2 separate regions of the Homo sapiens genome follow, and region 1 is linked to region 2. The links are contacts of gene promoters, found by promoter capture Hi-C in blood cells and fetal thymus (Javierre and others, 2016). All regions are on one chromosome and are shown on one strand. Each heading gives the region's core, a stretch centred on a gene start or on the middle of the fragment in contact. The rest is flanking DNA. Distances are from core to core; before and after follow the strand shown.

The links. The method cuts DNA at HindIII sites, captures the fragments that hold promoters and counts their contacts. A CHiCAGO score of 5 or more calls a contact.
Region 1: a fragment that was not itself captured here is called in contact with the fragment with the promoter of STARD3 in region 2 in 1 of 17 cell types (activated CD4 T cells); the score reaches 5.7 in activated CD4 T cells.

The regions. Positions count from the first base shown.
Region 1 is chr17:39,886,771-39,893,704 of GRCh38, forward strand. No RefSeq gene overlaps it. Among named protein-coding and RNA genes, the nearest start is that of ZPBP2, 22 kb to the left of the region's middle. The HindIII fragment of the contact is 6,437 bases long and covers 1,669-6,934 here.
Region 2 is chr17:39,632,678-39,639,605 of GRCh38, forward strand. STARD3 (StAR related lipid transfer domain containing 3) reads left to right here and starts at 4,467. Exons shown (of 15, transcript NM_006804.4): 1 at 4,467-4,554. PPP1R1B (protein phosphatase 1 regulatory inhibitor subunit 1B) reads left to right here. Exons shown (of 7, transcript NM_032192.4): 5 at 1,206-1,409; 6 at 2,930-3,049; 7 at 3,139-3,947. The coding sequence ends at 3,188. LOC124903998 (a long non-coding RNA gene) reads right to left here and starts at 4,613. Exons shown (of 2, transcript XR_007065749.1): 1 at 4,314-4,613; 2 at 1,961-2,349. RefSeq lists enhancers at 1-524, 2,612-3,235, 5,019-5,138 and a silencer at 4,409-4,478. The HindIII fragment of the contact is 16,133 bases long and covers 2,834-6,928 here.

The DNA.
Region 1 (6,934 bases), core at 3,637-6,136, 250 kb after region 2:
TAAAGGAGGGGAAAAGAGGCTGGCAACCCCTGGCATAAAAGATTAAACCCAAAATTGGCATCCAAAGCCTTCTACGGTCTGGTTTCCATTGACCTTTCCACCTTGATTCCTATCATTCTACACTGGGGGACAGATTGGACTAAATCTCTTAAGTTCTCTTCCAGCTCTAAGAATGTAAAGGTCTTTTCAGTTTGAACCCTTTTCTGTAACAAGACTCATCTTGCTTTCTCCTAGACAGACTACACTTATTCCTCATATGTAGAATGCCCTTCCATCTTTGTTTCCACGTTATTCACAACACTTCTACCCACACTGATCAGTTTCTTCCATAAATGTATTGTCTGCTACTGCTAATTTTAGCATGGAACCACATTTTTGTTACAATTTACTTTTTTTCTTTTTTCTTTTTCTTTTTCTTTTTTTTTTTTTTTTTGAGACAGGATCTTGCTGCCTTGCCCAGGCTGGAGTGCAGTGGTGTGATCACAGCCCACTGCAGCCTTGACCTCCTGGGCTCAAGCAATCCACCTGCCTCAGCTTCTGGAGTAGCTGGGACTATAGGCATGTGCCACTACACCTGGCTGATTAAAAAAATTTTTTTTGTAGAGATGAGGCCTCACTATGTTGCCCAGACTGGTCATTTAACATTTTTAAGCCTCTTTCATTATTTGTAAAATGAAAGGATTATATTAAATCCATAATATCTCTTCCAGCACTGAATCTAGGTTTAATGTCTTTTCTATCTTCTGTATCCTTTCCCCACCATCCCCTACTAGAATAAACTCCTGTGAGCAGGAACTTCCTCATACTAACCTTTGAATGCCCCCCACATTTCTATGCATTATAGCTGTAATAAGTAATTGAACTGATTAAATTGAATCTGCATTCAGAGGTAAACTTGTGGTTATATCCTACTTGCTACTTATTTTGAATCTTGAGAATATTTGCAGCCAGGCATGGTGGCTCATGCTTGTACTCCCAGCACTTTTGGAGGCTGAGGCAGGCAGATTGTTTGAACCCAGGAGTTCAGAACCAGCCTGGGCAACATGATGAAACCCTGTCTCTACAAAAAAATTCAAAAATTAGCTGGGTGTGATAGCACACACCTGTAGTCCCAGCTACTTGGGAGGCTAAGGTAGGAGGATCGCTTGAGCCCAGGAGGCAGAGGTTGCGATGAGCCAAGCCAAGATCACACCACTGCACTCCAGCCTGGGCGACAGAGTGAGACCCTGTCTCAAAAAAAAAAAAAAAAAAGCCAGACATGGTGCCTCACGCTTGTAATCTTAGCACTTTGGGAGGCCAAGGTGGGCGGATCACATGAGGCCAGGAGTTTGAGACTAGCCTGGCCAACATGGCGAAGCCCCATCTCTACTAAAAAAAAAAAAAAAAAAAAAAAAAAATTAGCTAGATGTGGTGGCACACACCTGTAATCCCAGCTACTTGGGAGGCTAAGTCATGAGAATTGCTTGAACCTGGGAGGCTGAGGTTGCAGTGAACTGACATCCTCGCACCGCTGCACTCCAGCCTGGGTGACAAAATGAAACTCTGTCTCAAAAAAGAGAGAGAGAGAGAGATAATATTTGCCCCTTGATACATTGATTCACACTTTTTCCATCCCCTAACCCCGATCCATAGTAAACTATTTAAATATTATAACACAGTAGAATTAAAAGCTTGTGTTGAATTAATATTTTGCAAATGTTAACCCATTAACAACAAAATTAAATGAATGTAATATTCTTTATCTCATTAGCAGAGACACAAAGCCCTAAAATGGCAACAAAGTTATTATATCTTCTGACTTATTCAATGGAAACAGAAGTTGTAACAGCATTCCTACAATTTGCTGCTGAAAAAAATCCCACCCTTTCCCTTTTTTTTTTTTTTTTTTGAGATGGAGTCTCCCTCTGTTGCCCAGGCTGAAGTGCAGTGGCACAATCTCGGCTCACTGCAACCTCCACCTCCCGGGTTCAAGCGATTCTCCTGTCTCAGCCTCCCGAGTAGCTGGGATTACAGGCGCACGCCGCCATGCCTGGCTAATTTTTTGTATTTTAGTAGAGTTGGGGTTTCACCGTGTTGCCCAGGCTGGTCTCAAACTCCTGAGCTCAGGCAATCCACCCACGTTGGCCTCCCAAATTGCTGGGATTACAGGCATGAGCCACCGCACCTGGCCTCCCTCTTTTTCATCTTGATTCTGTATGTGTACATTTGTAGTACTTAGAAGTCACATTTCACAGGATTGTACCTACCAAAAGAGTCAGTATTGAGAATTTTGTATTTTGTACTTCTGCAAGAGTATTTTCCAACACTAGTGTATTATTAATAAACTAATGAACATTTGGTTTTCATTTGCTTGTTTCAACAACCATTTTGGCATGTATGTGGTGTTAATAGCTTAATGCTTTGAACTGCAGGTGCCATATCTTCATGTATTGTAAATGTTTCTGTCTGAAGCAGTTAGAAAAACTAATGGATCTACTTAGTTCAGATTTAGTAAAATTTTCTGGTCGTATGTGAAAGCATTAGTTTATTGAAGTATAAGAAAATCACTGATTACAAACTTTCAAGAGCACAAACATTTAGCCTCTATGGACATATTAGCTAGCCTATCAGAGGTATTATTGGGGAATAAAAGGCTAACAGTTTATGTACCTTTCTAATCAATGATTAATAAAATCTCTTGTAAGAGCCTGTGTGTTGTCACCGGACATTTTTATCTTACCTTAGGCTTTCTTATCAGCTGCAAAGCAGACTATCCTGAAATTCTTACCAAGATATGTGTTCTTAGGTTACCTGTGTATTAACCTGCTCAGAATATCCAGAAGAGAAGATGTCCAAATGTAATCTAGGCTGACCTTTTTCTGCCAAATTGTTTCAGTTGCAGATTATGGACTCTTGCCTTTCATTTTCATTATATTCTTACAGTTTTTTGTTTACTTCACATCTTTAAAAACAAAACATTACAGGTTCATTTAAAGCCTCTTTATACTTTTCTTCTACCACTATTCTCTTATCCCCCCCAAGAATTAATCACCACTCTGAAATTGGTAGGTATCCCTCCCATGTAAGTTTTTTGTTGTTGTTGGGTGGGGGTTGTCTTTGTTTTTGTTTTTGTTTTTTCTGAGACTGAGTTTTGCTCTTGTTGCCCAGGTTGGAGTGCAGTGGTATGATTTCAGTTCACTGCAGCCTCCGCCTCCCAAGTTCAAGCGATTCTCCTGCCTCAGCCTCCTGAGTAGCTGGGATTACAGGGGGCGCACCACCATGCCCAGCCAATTTTTGTATTGCCCAGGCTGGTCTCGAACTCCTGACCTCAGGTGATCTGCCACCTCGGCCTCTCAAAGTGCTGGGGATTATAGACATGAGCCACCACGCCCGGCCTTAAGTTTTGTAATCATTTAATTTTTACATCAAAGGTGTAATGCGTATGCTTTGCAACTTTCTTTACCCATATTTTAAAAAATTCTGTTAACACATGAAGATTTGATTCCATTCCTCCTCTATTCCACTACATTAATATGGCAATATGTATTATTTTCCATCTATTAACTGTATGTGCATCAGTCAGGGTCCAATCTCGAGACAGAAAATACACAGTAATTTGATTAGAGGAAGTTTAATATGAGGAATTATTAAATGTAACAAGGGATTGGAATAATAAGGAATTGCCTAGTAAGATGTAAGGAGAACTCTAAAGAATAGAGGAATAACAGATATACATATATTTTTAAGGCAATACCACTAGGACTGAGAGTGTCTAAGAAAATCCACCATCCCCTAGGGCTGAGGTCCAGCTTGTTAAAATGAGCATAACCATGGGTCACCAGATGGAAGAAAAGTCATTGTCGTGCTAAAAATACACTCTCTAGAACTTGTCAGAGACCCACCCTCTGCGGTGCCAGGAAAAGCTGTACATAGGGAAGTTTCTCACTAGAGACACTCTGCTATAAAACCACAGAAGGAGGCCAGGCGTGGTGGCTCATGCCTGTAATCCTAGCACTTTGGGAGGCCAAAGTGGGCAGATCACTTGAGGTCAGGAGTTCGAGACCAGCCTGGCCAACATAGTGAAACCCTGTCTCTACTAAAAATACAAAAATTAGCTGGGTGTGGTGGTGGGTGCCTGTAATCCCAGCTACTTGGGAGGCTGAGGCAGGAGAATCGCTTGAACCCAGGAGACAGAGATGGCAGTGAGCCAGATTGTGCCTCTGCACTCCAGGGCAACAGTGACACATCATCTCTAAATAAATAAATAAATCCACAGAAGGAGGAGGAGTTGTCAGTGGTGCTGCTAGCCACCAGGCACTGCAGGGTATGGACAATGGAGAAGTTGAACATGCTACCAGAGCCTGCCAAAGCAAGAACTCAGAACCTACAGTGTCTCTCCAGCACCCCTTTCTGACAGTTCATTGTTGTGCCAGCTGGCAAAGGAAAAATATTATCAGAGCCCAGATTCATTTTCATAGAGCAGGCAAAAAGGATGAATTTGGAGCTGAGAGACAATAAGTTGCTAACTGTCACAGTCTAACCTTTTGGCTATTTGACGTCCACATGCACCTTTCTATACACATTTGAACTCTTGTTCATGGACAAAACAATTTTTATTTTTTGAGACAAGGTCTCTGTTGCTCCCGCTAAAGTGCGGTGGCACAATCATAGCTTACTGCAGGCTTTGAACTCCTGGGCTCAAGCGATCCTCCTGCCTCAGCCTCACAAGTATCTGGGACTACAGGCACGTGCCACCACACCCAGTTAATTTTTAAAATTTTTTTGTGGAGACAAGTTCTCTCTCTAGAACTCAGGCTGATCTCAAACTCCTGGGCTCAAGTGATCCTCCCGCCTCAGCCTCTGAAAGTGCTGGGATTACAGGCGTGAGCCACCTCACCTGGCCACAATTTTATATTCTAAGAAGATACATCTATCCATCTTAAAAGTACTTGCTGTTTCCCCAAAATGTAAAGATATGTAGTCCCAACAGTCATTGTTTCTATTGCTATTTTAAATACTTCTCAAATTCAGTCACAGTTCCACTGAATATTCTTACCTAAAGACTAAACTGTAAAATTATCTACCAACAATCTGTATATTAAAAACTGGAAAGGAGAGAGAAGAAGGATAGCATATTAAAATAAAGGTATTGGCTGGGCACAGTGGCTCACACCTGTAATCCCAGCACTTCAGGAGGCTAAGGCGGGTGGATCACCTGAGGTCAGGAGTTAGAGACCAGCCTGGCCAACATGGTGAAATCCCGTCTCTACTAATAATACAAAAATTAGCCAGGTGTGGTGGCACACACCTGTAATCCCAGCTACTCAGGAGGCTGAGGCAGAAGAATCGCTTGAGCCCAGGAGGCAGAGGTTGCAGTGTGCTGAGATTGTGCCACTGTGCTCCAGCCTGGGCGACAGAGCAAGACTTTGTCTCAAAATAAATAAATAAATAAATAAAGGTGTGAATACAAGAAGCAAAGAGAAAATATGCAAAGCTACTTTGTTTCTGTGATTGGTCATTAAGGTTGTAGTTTATACCTATGGCTTCCTTCTGCGGGAAGCCAATTCCGTGTTATTCTTGCCCTCAGTCAGAACTTCAGTTGCTGTGGGTTCTTTATGTGGTGGAATGACTGAAATTTTATTGCCAAAGTGTCTGAATCTTTATTGTTCTTACCCCTTCTCCTCCCCACACCTGTTTTTTGGTTGCTACGTAGTTTTCCATCAACCTTTACTATTGAAGATGGAAGAACTAGAGGTACCTCAGAGAATCTGGGTTCCAGACATAGTCCTCCTTTCTACCCTTGTGTAGCAACTCAGTTTCCCATTGGTCATCAGGATCATTCTCTCCAGCCAGATTAACTCTCCTTTCTCACCTCATCCCCTTTTTTCCCTGCTTAGTTCAACAACATATGGAGCCCAAAATGTCCAGGTGACAGTCTCATCTTCCAAACCAGGGAAGAACCATTGTGGTGTCTCCTTGTGGAAGCATCCCCCTCTTGGGAACAAAGATCTCCAAACCATCAAAGCTCAAAGTTACCAGGATAGAGAGCGAACATTCTTCTAGTGGGTTATTGGGTGGAATAGTGAGAGGAGCCACTCCTACACCCACTCTTTGATTCCTGGACTATCCTGGCTATGAGGGAGACAGCACTAGATAGTGGCCTCTGATTCAAAACCTAAACTGCATCCTGTAAAGCAGAACCCATTTCTTTCAGGGTGTTGTCTCCCAGTTGACACTGTAACAGATTTTAGTGAGCCATTTCACCTTTCCGTTAAGCTAATTGCTTCTAGGTGATGGGGAGTGGAGTAAGACCAGCGAATTCTACGGCCATGAGCCCACTGCTTCACTTCCTTTGCAGTGAAGTGAGTTCCCTGATCAGACACAATGCAGTGTGGAATGCCATGATGGTCGATAAGGCATTCTGTGAGTTCACAGGTGGCAGCGCTGGCTGAAGCATTATGAGCAGGGAAGGCAAACCCACATCCAGAATATGTGTCTATTCCAGTGAGGATGAATCTCTGTTGTTTGGATAGTTTTATTCTGTCGGCATAAAAAAAACTGGGCACACAGGTTAATGACTAGGTTACCCTGAAATAGGCTAATGCATTATTCTTTTCCATAATAGCACATCTCATTTTGAAACAGTAGAACTTCATAAAAGTGAGAAAGAGAGTATGAACATTTTAGTGGTAGGATTCTAAAGTGATTATGTCCCCCTAAGAAGGAAATGTTTCCCTCTTGAAGGTAGAACTACCACCCCAACCATCCTAAAGAGACAGATGCCTGGCCGGACACAGTGGCTCACGCCTGTAATCCCAGCACTTTGGGAGGCTGAGGCAGGTGGATCATCTGAGGTCAGGAGTTTAAGACCAGCCTGGCTAACATGGTGAAACCCTGTTTCTACTAAAAATACAAAAAAAAATTAGCTGGGCCTGGTGGCAGGCACCTGTAATCC
Region 2 (6,928 bases), core at 3,217-5,716:
GTGCTTTTATTGCCTGGATAGCTTGCCCAGAGCCAGCAGGAGGTACTGGGCTGGGAGCTGGGGGCTGGGTGGGGCAGCGGGCACATACAAAGCACCCTCTGTGCCTGTCCCCGAGTTGGCAGGAGCATAGCACCCTGCTCACTGTGCCGGAGGTTTCCAGCCTGGCCCTACCCCTCTGGGCCTTCTGAGGGGAGGGGCCACTGGCAGACCAAGAAGGAACTGCAGCAACTCCCCATTCCCCACCCCCAGCCCCTCCTCAGCATCTTGTCTGTGGCCTGTGAACTTTGTGTCGCATATGTTCTAAGATCCTGCCAGCTCCTGCAGCCTCTCCTCAGTGGCCCCTCAACCTCTGCCATCCCCCAGAACCCCTGGCCTTGGCCCCTTTCTCTAACCCCTTGCTCCTTTCCATCTTTTGGAAACTTGTCTCCAGCTGCCCACACTGTTCCCTTCCCAGCCCTATCTGAGCAGGTCTTTGGAGGCTGGGGGGGTTGCTTTCTAGGTCACCGCAGAGGGAGCTGGGAACCTGGGGATGTGGGTCAAGATTGTGGGGGCCGCATCTGAGCATGCCGCATCCCCCGGCACAGACTGCACTGGCTGCAGACTATTATGTCCTCAGCCTCGGAATTGTTCTGTCCCTTGGAGCCCGGGGCAGGAGTATGTGGATTGGCATCTATGACTGGGCAGTGCCAGGGAGTGGGGACTATGCATCGCATGGGAGGTAGGATCAGGGTAAGCAGTGAGCCCTCAGCAGGCTGGGCACCCCCAAGAAATGGAAAGTGGCAAATCCCCAGGCCCTGGTTCCTACGCCCTGTGCCTTCTGCCTGGGCTTGAAGCTGGGAGACACTGTCTCCCGTACTGGGTACTTGGAAAATCAAGCTCTCCAGCCAGGGAATGTTAAGCTGCTGCTGTGCCCGCCTGGTCTTGCCCAGCCTAGTGCCCTATGGTGTGGGGGAGCTGCCTGGGGGCTAGCATCTTAGGACAGCTTAAGAGCCAAACATGATCAAATCTACCCCTGGCTGCCTCTGCCCTGGTCTGACACCCATCAGGCTGACCTGTCAACTTTGGCCTTTGAACTTGGGCCCCTGAGGGGGTATTCTCTGCCCCAGGCCTACGGGAAGGAGGCTGGGGGCTAGGCCACAGGCTATCTCCAGATCCATGGGCTGTGTCTAGCTGACCCTTGCTTTCCTCGGTCTCCTCTGTGCCAGCTGTGCAGCGCATTGCTGAGTCTCACCTGCAGTCTATCAGCAATTTGAATGAGAACCAGGCCTCAGAGGAGGAGGATGAGCTGGGGGAGCTTCGGGAGCTGGGTTATCCAAGAGAGGAAGATGAGGAGGAAGAGGAGGATGATGAAGAAGAGGAAGAAGAAGAGGACAGCCAGGCTGAAGTCCTGAAGGTCATCAGGCAGTCTGGTAAGCTGAGGGGCCTGTGACATGTGGATTAGCTGTGGGTCCTCCTTGAGTATACGAGGACGTCCCCTTCTAGTTCAGTGTCTCATACACGCAAACTGTAGTGACACCACAGGGGCCTCCCTGTCTTCTCGCTCCATGGGGTGCCCCGAACTCAGCCCTACCTGAGACATGGGTTTCCTCCATCCTTGGCTCAGTCCCTCTCCCAATCAGGTTTTCCCTAATAATTCCTCTCTTCCCTGAGAATTAAGGCCAAGGCCGTTTGGGGTTTGAGGCTAGAGCCAAAAGAGGACTTCCCACCTATGGCAGTAAGGGGGCGTGAGGACATTCAGGGATGGAGGACCAGGAGAGTCCAACACCCCTGTCACCTGCATTTCACCTACATTTTTGAACCTAGGATGTGGTCTCTGCTGGGGTGCAGAGGGCTGCCTCATTTACTTGCCCTCTCCAGGACTGTTGTCTGTTTCTCCTCTTTTTCCTTCCTAGGATGGAGTGGGAGGGTGCCCTCTAGTGTTTAGATGTAGAATTTAAAATTCAAGAACCAGCCCGGCCCATTAACCTTTTTAGTCTCATTATTTATGGGAATACTGAAGAGTCAACCACCCCTACTAGAAGCTGTCAGCTCTTCCACACAAACAAAAGGCCTTGGGCCTCCTGCCTGCATATCTGGCAGTGAAGAGATTGGCCATGGGGGCAAAAGCTGTTGCTGGGCTTCAGTCCCTTTGTGGGCAAGAGACAGCTGGAAGACCTGAATCAGTCCTCACTGAGACCCCTCCAAAACAGTGGAAGAGGGGTGAGAGGAGACTGTTCCCTCAGGAAAAGCAGCAGGTGGCTGGGTGCGGTGGCTCATGCCTGTAATTCCAGCACTTTGGGATGCCAAGGCTAGCGGATCACTTGAGGTCTGGAGTTCAAGACCAGTCCAGCCAACATGGTGAAACCCCATCTGTAATAAAAATACAAAAATTAGCCAGGCACAGTGGCACACACCTGTAATCCCAGCTGCTTGGGAGGCTGAGGCAGAAGAATCCCCTGAACCTGGGAGGTGGAAGTTGCAGTGAGCTGAGATCGCACCACTGCACTCCAGCCTGGGCAACAGAGTGAGACTCCATCTCAAAAACAAAAACAAAAAACCAAAACAAAACAACAAAAAAAAACAAACAAACAAAAAATGCAGAAGGGCACCGGGTCAAATGATAGTCCTATGATGGAGCAATATAAACCACCACGACTCCTAGTGGCTCCTGGGTGCTGGCGCTGGGCTGGGCAGGGTATTCACTATTACATCTTGTTTAAGGTAATCTACACAATTTCCCCCTTTCTATTTCCTTCAGAAAGGTACTAACTGACTTACGTAAGCCATATGGCTAGTTGCTGGGAGAGCTGTTCTAGCCCAGTTCTCTCTCCATGCTTCCATGATGCCCCTGGAAAGCTTAACCTCAGCCATCAGACACTTAGCTCACACTCCAGGACAGCCGGATGGATACGCAGAGCCTGTGTTCTTATCTCTTCTTTCCCATCCCCAGCTGGGCAAAAGACAACCTGTGGCCAGGGTCTGGAAGGGCCCTGGGAGCGCCCACCCCCTCTGGATGAGTCCGAGAGAGATGGAGGCTCTGAGGACCAAGTGGAAGACCCAGCACTAAGTGGTAAGGCTTGGGAGTGTGAAATGGGGAGGAGGGGCTGGGATCTTGGTGGGTGGGGCCAGGCCCTGAGTCCCTCTCTGCTTGCCTTTCAGAGCCTGGGGAGGAACCTCAGCGCCCTTCCCCCTCTGAGCCTGGCACATAGGCACCCAGCCTGCATCTCCCAGGAGGAAGTGGAGGGGACATCGCTGTTCCCCAGAAACCCACTCTATCCTCACCCTGTTTTGTGCTCTTCCCCTCGCCTGCTAGGGCTGCGGCTTCTGACTTCTAGAAGACTAAGGCTGGTCTGTGTTTGCTTGTTTGCCCACCTTTGGCTGATACCCAGAGAACCTGGGCACTTGCTGCCTGATGCCCACCCCTGCCAGTCATTCCTCCATTCACCCAGCGGGAGGTGGGATGTGAGACAGCCCACATTGGAAAATCCAGAAAACCGGGAACAGGGATTTGCCCTTCACAATTCTACTCCCCAGATCCTCTCCCCTGGACACAGGAGACCCACAGGGCAGGACCCTAAGATCTGGGGAAAGGAGGTCCTGAGAACCTTGAGGTACCCTTAGATCCTTTTCTACCCACTTTCCTATGGAGGATTCCAAGTCACCACTTCTCTCACCGGCTTCTACCAGGGTCCAGGACTAAGGCGTTTTTCTCCATAGCCTCAACATTTTGGGAATCTTCCCTTAATCACCCTTGCTCCTCCTGGGTGCCTGGAAGATGGACTGGCAGAGACCTCTTTGTTGCGTTTTGTGCTTTGATGCCAGGAATGCCGCCTAGTTTATGTCCCCGGTGGGGCACACAGCGGGGGGCGCCAGGTTTTCCTTGTCCCCCAGCTGCTCTGCCCCTTTCCCCTTCTTCCCTGACTCCAGGCCTGAACCCCTCCCGTGCTGTAATAAATCTTTGTAAATAACTGCTGAGACTCCTCTTTCAGGGGAAGCAGGAGGAAAAGGGAGGTAATGGGGCGTCCTGATAGGGAAGGCCGGTGGTCAACCAAGGGTTAGGGTTTTGACCCTACTGTCCAATCCTCTAGTCTAGGAGTCTTTCTGGCAGACAGCAGGCTCGGGGCACTCAGAGGAAGAACTACAGAAGTTCTAGCTGCTGCTTGGGATGGCTGAAGGAGGCAGGTGGGGTGGGGAAGTCCTTCTCGAATAACTGGATTCCTCCAAAGATTTCCCCATCCCCACAGGACTCCCCTCGGGAAATTCCCCTTTTTCCCTCAGTGCCAGGCCTGTGTGGCCTAATAACGACGGCCCTGGTCTTCTTCCCACTCCCCTACCCTTAGGTAGGCCCTTAGACTCCGGCCTTTGAGTCCGCTTCTGCGCAGGGCCGGGGCTGGAGGCGGGGCGAAGGGGCGGGGCCGCAGGCGAACGCAAGTCCCGCTTCGCTCTCGGGGGCGGACTCAGCGGCGGAAGTGGCGCTGCCGGAAGATCTTCTTCCGCTCTGAGGCGCTACTGAGGCCGCGGAGCCGGACTGCGGTTGGGGCGGGAAGAGCCGGGGCCGTGGCTGACATGGAGCAGGTGGGTCCCGGAGCGGTCGCTGGGAGCGGGTGGCGTGCGAGGGCCGTCTTCCGCCGGTCGAACCCGCTTCGCCGCCCGCTGTCCGTGCTGGGTTCCGTCCGACCCTTCCCACACCCGCTGCGTCTCAGGTTCCGCCCCCTTCCTCTGTCTGGCCTCGCGCCGCCCCGCGCGGGTTGGGGTCTCCAGCAATGACTCTTGGCGACCCCGCCTATCCTGGGGAGCCCGGGGAGGACGTTCGGGATCTCCTTCCAAAGCCTCCGTCTTAACTGAGGGGAGAGGAGAGGGTGAGGTGTCTGGGTGTTATGAGCAGGGGCAGGTATGGGGAGGGGTCGGAATCTGGGGTGAGAGGAAAACATCTACGCATTCCGGTAGCTCTGCGTCTCAGTGTCATCCCGTGTCTCCCCAACTTCCTTTCGAAACGGCCGTGAATAACTTCCTAATTGGTATTAAAAGGGCCCTTTGAAGTCTTGAGTTCTTAGAGGTGCATAGTACCATTGACACTCATTTCTAATGACACGTTCCCTCACCCCGCATTTTTGGGTTAGTCAATGTCTCCTGGTTTTCTTCGTACCGCTCTGACAGTCGGTCAAAGTCCCGCTTCACGTTTTCCTCTGTCGCCCAACCCCTCGCTCTGTACACTGAATCTCAGTGGTCTTATTTTCCCCCACGGCTTCAGCTTTACACCAACTAAATACCCAGATCCACATCTTCAGCGCAGCCCTTCCCTGGAGCTCCACGCTTGCCCATCCAGCGGCCATTGGGACAGCTCTGCTTCACATGGAGCTCACTGGGTCCAAACTTGAACTGGTCTTTTCCTTGCAGATTAATTCTTCCTCTACCCCAACCCAGCCGGAAGTCTGGTAATTTCCTTACACTTTCTCCTCTCTTTCAAGTCCCACATCTTAAAAGTGACCTAGTACTGCCAACTTCCTGAACATCCTTCAAACCTGGGCCAGCTCCATCTCTTCTGTTACCACGCTGTTGATGTATTGTCAATTCCCAACAGTCCAGCCCTGGCAGCTTGCAACCCAGTCTCCAAACTGTAACTCTTGTGATCCTTTTAGAACACAAGTCTTACGGTGCCAGTTCCTTGCTGATAACCTTTTTCTGGCTTTCTATTGCCTATGTGCTGAACCCCTAGCACAATTTACACAGCTCTCTGTGATCTGACCTAGCAGTCTCCTGTGTGCACCCTAAGGTCCAATAATACGGCACTGCAGCATGCGCCATGCCTACCCTTGCTGTTCGTATCTTCATGACTTTGCACACACCAGCCCCCGCTGCTTGGAAACCTCCTCCTTCTCTTGTCTGCTGGGCTACCTTCTACATGTTTTTCAGCGCAGGCAGCGCTGCCTCCGCCTAACCCCCAAGGTTAATTGCCCTTCTGTGTCCTGTAGCACCCTGTCCATAATAGCATAGTAGCTGAGAATACAGACTCCTGGATCAGACTGCCTGGGTTCTGACCTGTTTGGTAACCTTGATGAAGTCAGTGCCTCAATTTCCTCACTTGTAAAATGGAGGTAGGAATGTCTCTACTTCATAGAGTTGTGAGGATTGAATGGAATATTGTATGTTTAGGTCTTAAACCAGTGCTAGGCACAAGAATGCTCAATAAATTAAAGTGAGTTGCCTGGGTGCAGTGGCTCATGCATTAATCCTAGTACTTTGGGAGGCAAGGCAGGATGATCGCTTGAGGCCAGGGGTTTGCAACTAGCTTGGGCAACATAGTGAGACCCCATCGCTACAAAAATTTAAAAAACTAGCTGAGCATGGTGGTACGTGTGGGAGGATCCTTTGAGCCCAGGAATTTGAAGTTACAACGAGATATGGTTGTGCCACTGCACTCTAGTGTGAGGGACAGAGTGAGATCCTGTTTCTAAAATAAATAAATAAAAAGTTATTACTATTATGTAAGGACAACATAGTTCACCAGTTATGATTTTTAATTTCATAAGTTGCCTGAGGATGGTTGAAGTGGCTTACTAGTCATTGGATAGAGCCTGGCTCTTTGCCAATAAATAAAATGCTGGAGTGGAGGACACTGGGGGCAGGGTCTGGATTTATTGAGTGAAGATTCAAGAGTGAAAAAGGCTCAGACCTGGTCTGCTCAGGAAAACCAGTCTGGAAGTGTGTGTGTGTTACATGGCAAGCATTAAATCTAGAGAAATGTATAGATCTGGGAACTAGAGGGAGAAAAAGACCAGGGGCGGCTTCTGAGGAGCTGACAGTTAATGGGGCCTATAAAGCGATGGGAGGATTTTATCAGAGGGAGGCAGAGGCTGGAGTGGGCTCAGAGATCAGAAAGCTGGGTCCTCTGAACAGAGCTCCAGTAGATGGTGGCTGGGTGGGGGAACAGGGGAGACGGAGCTGAGGA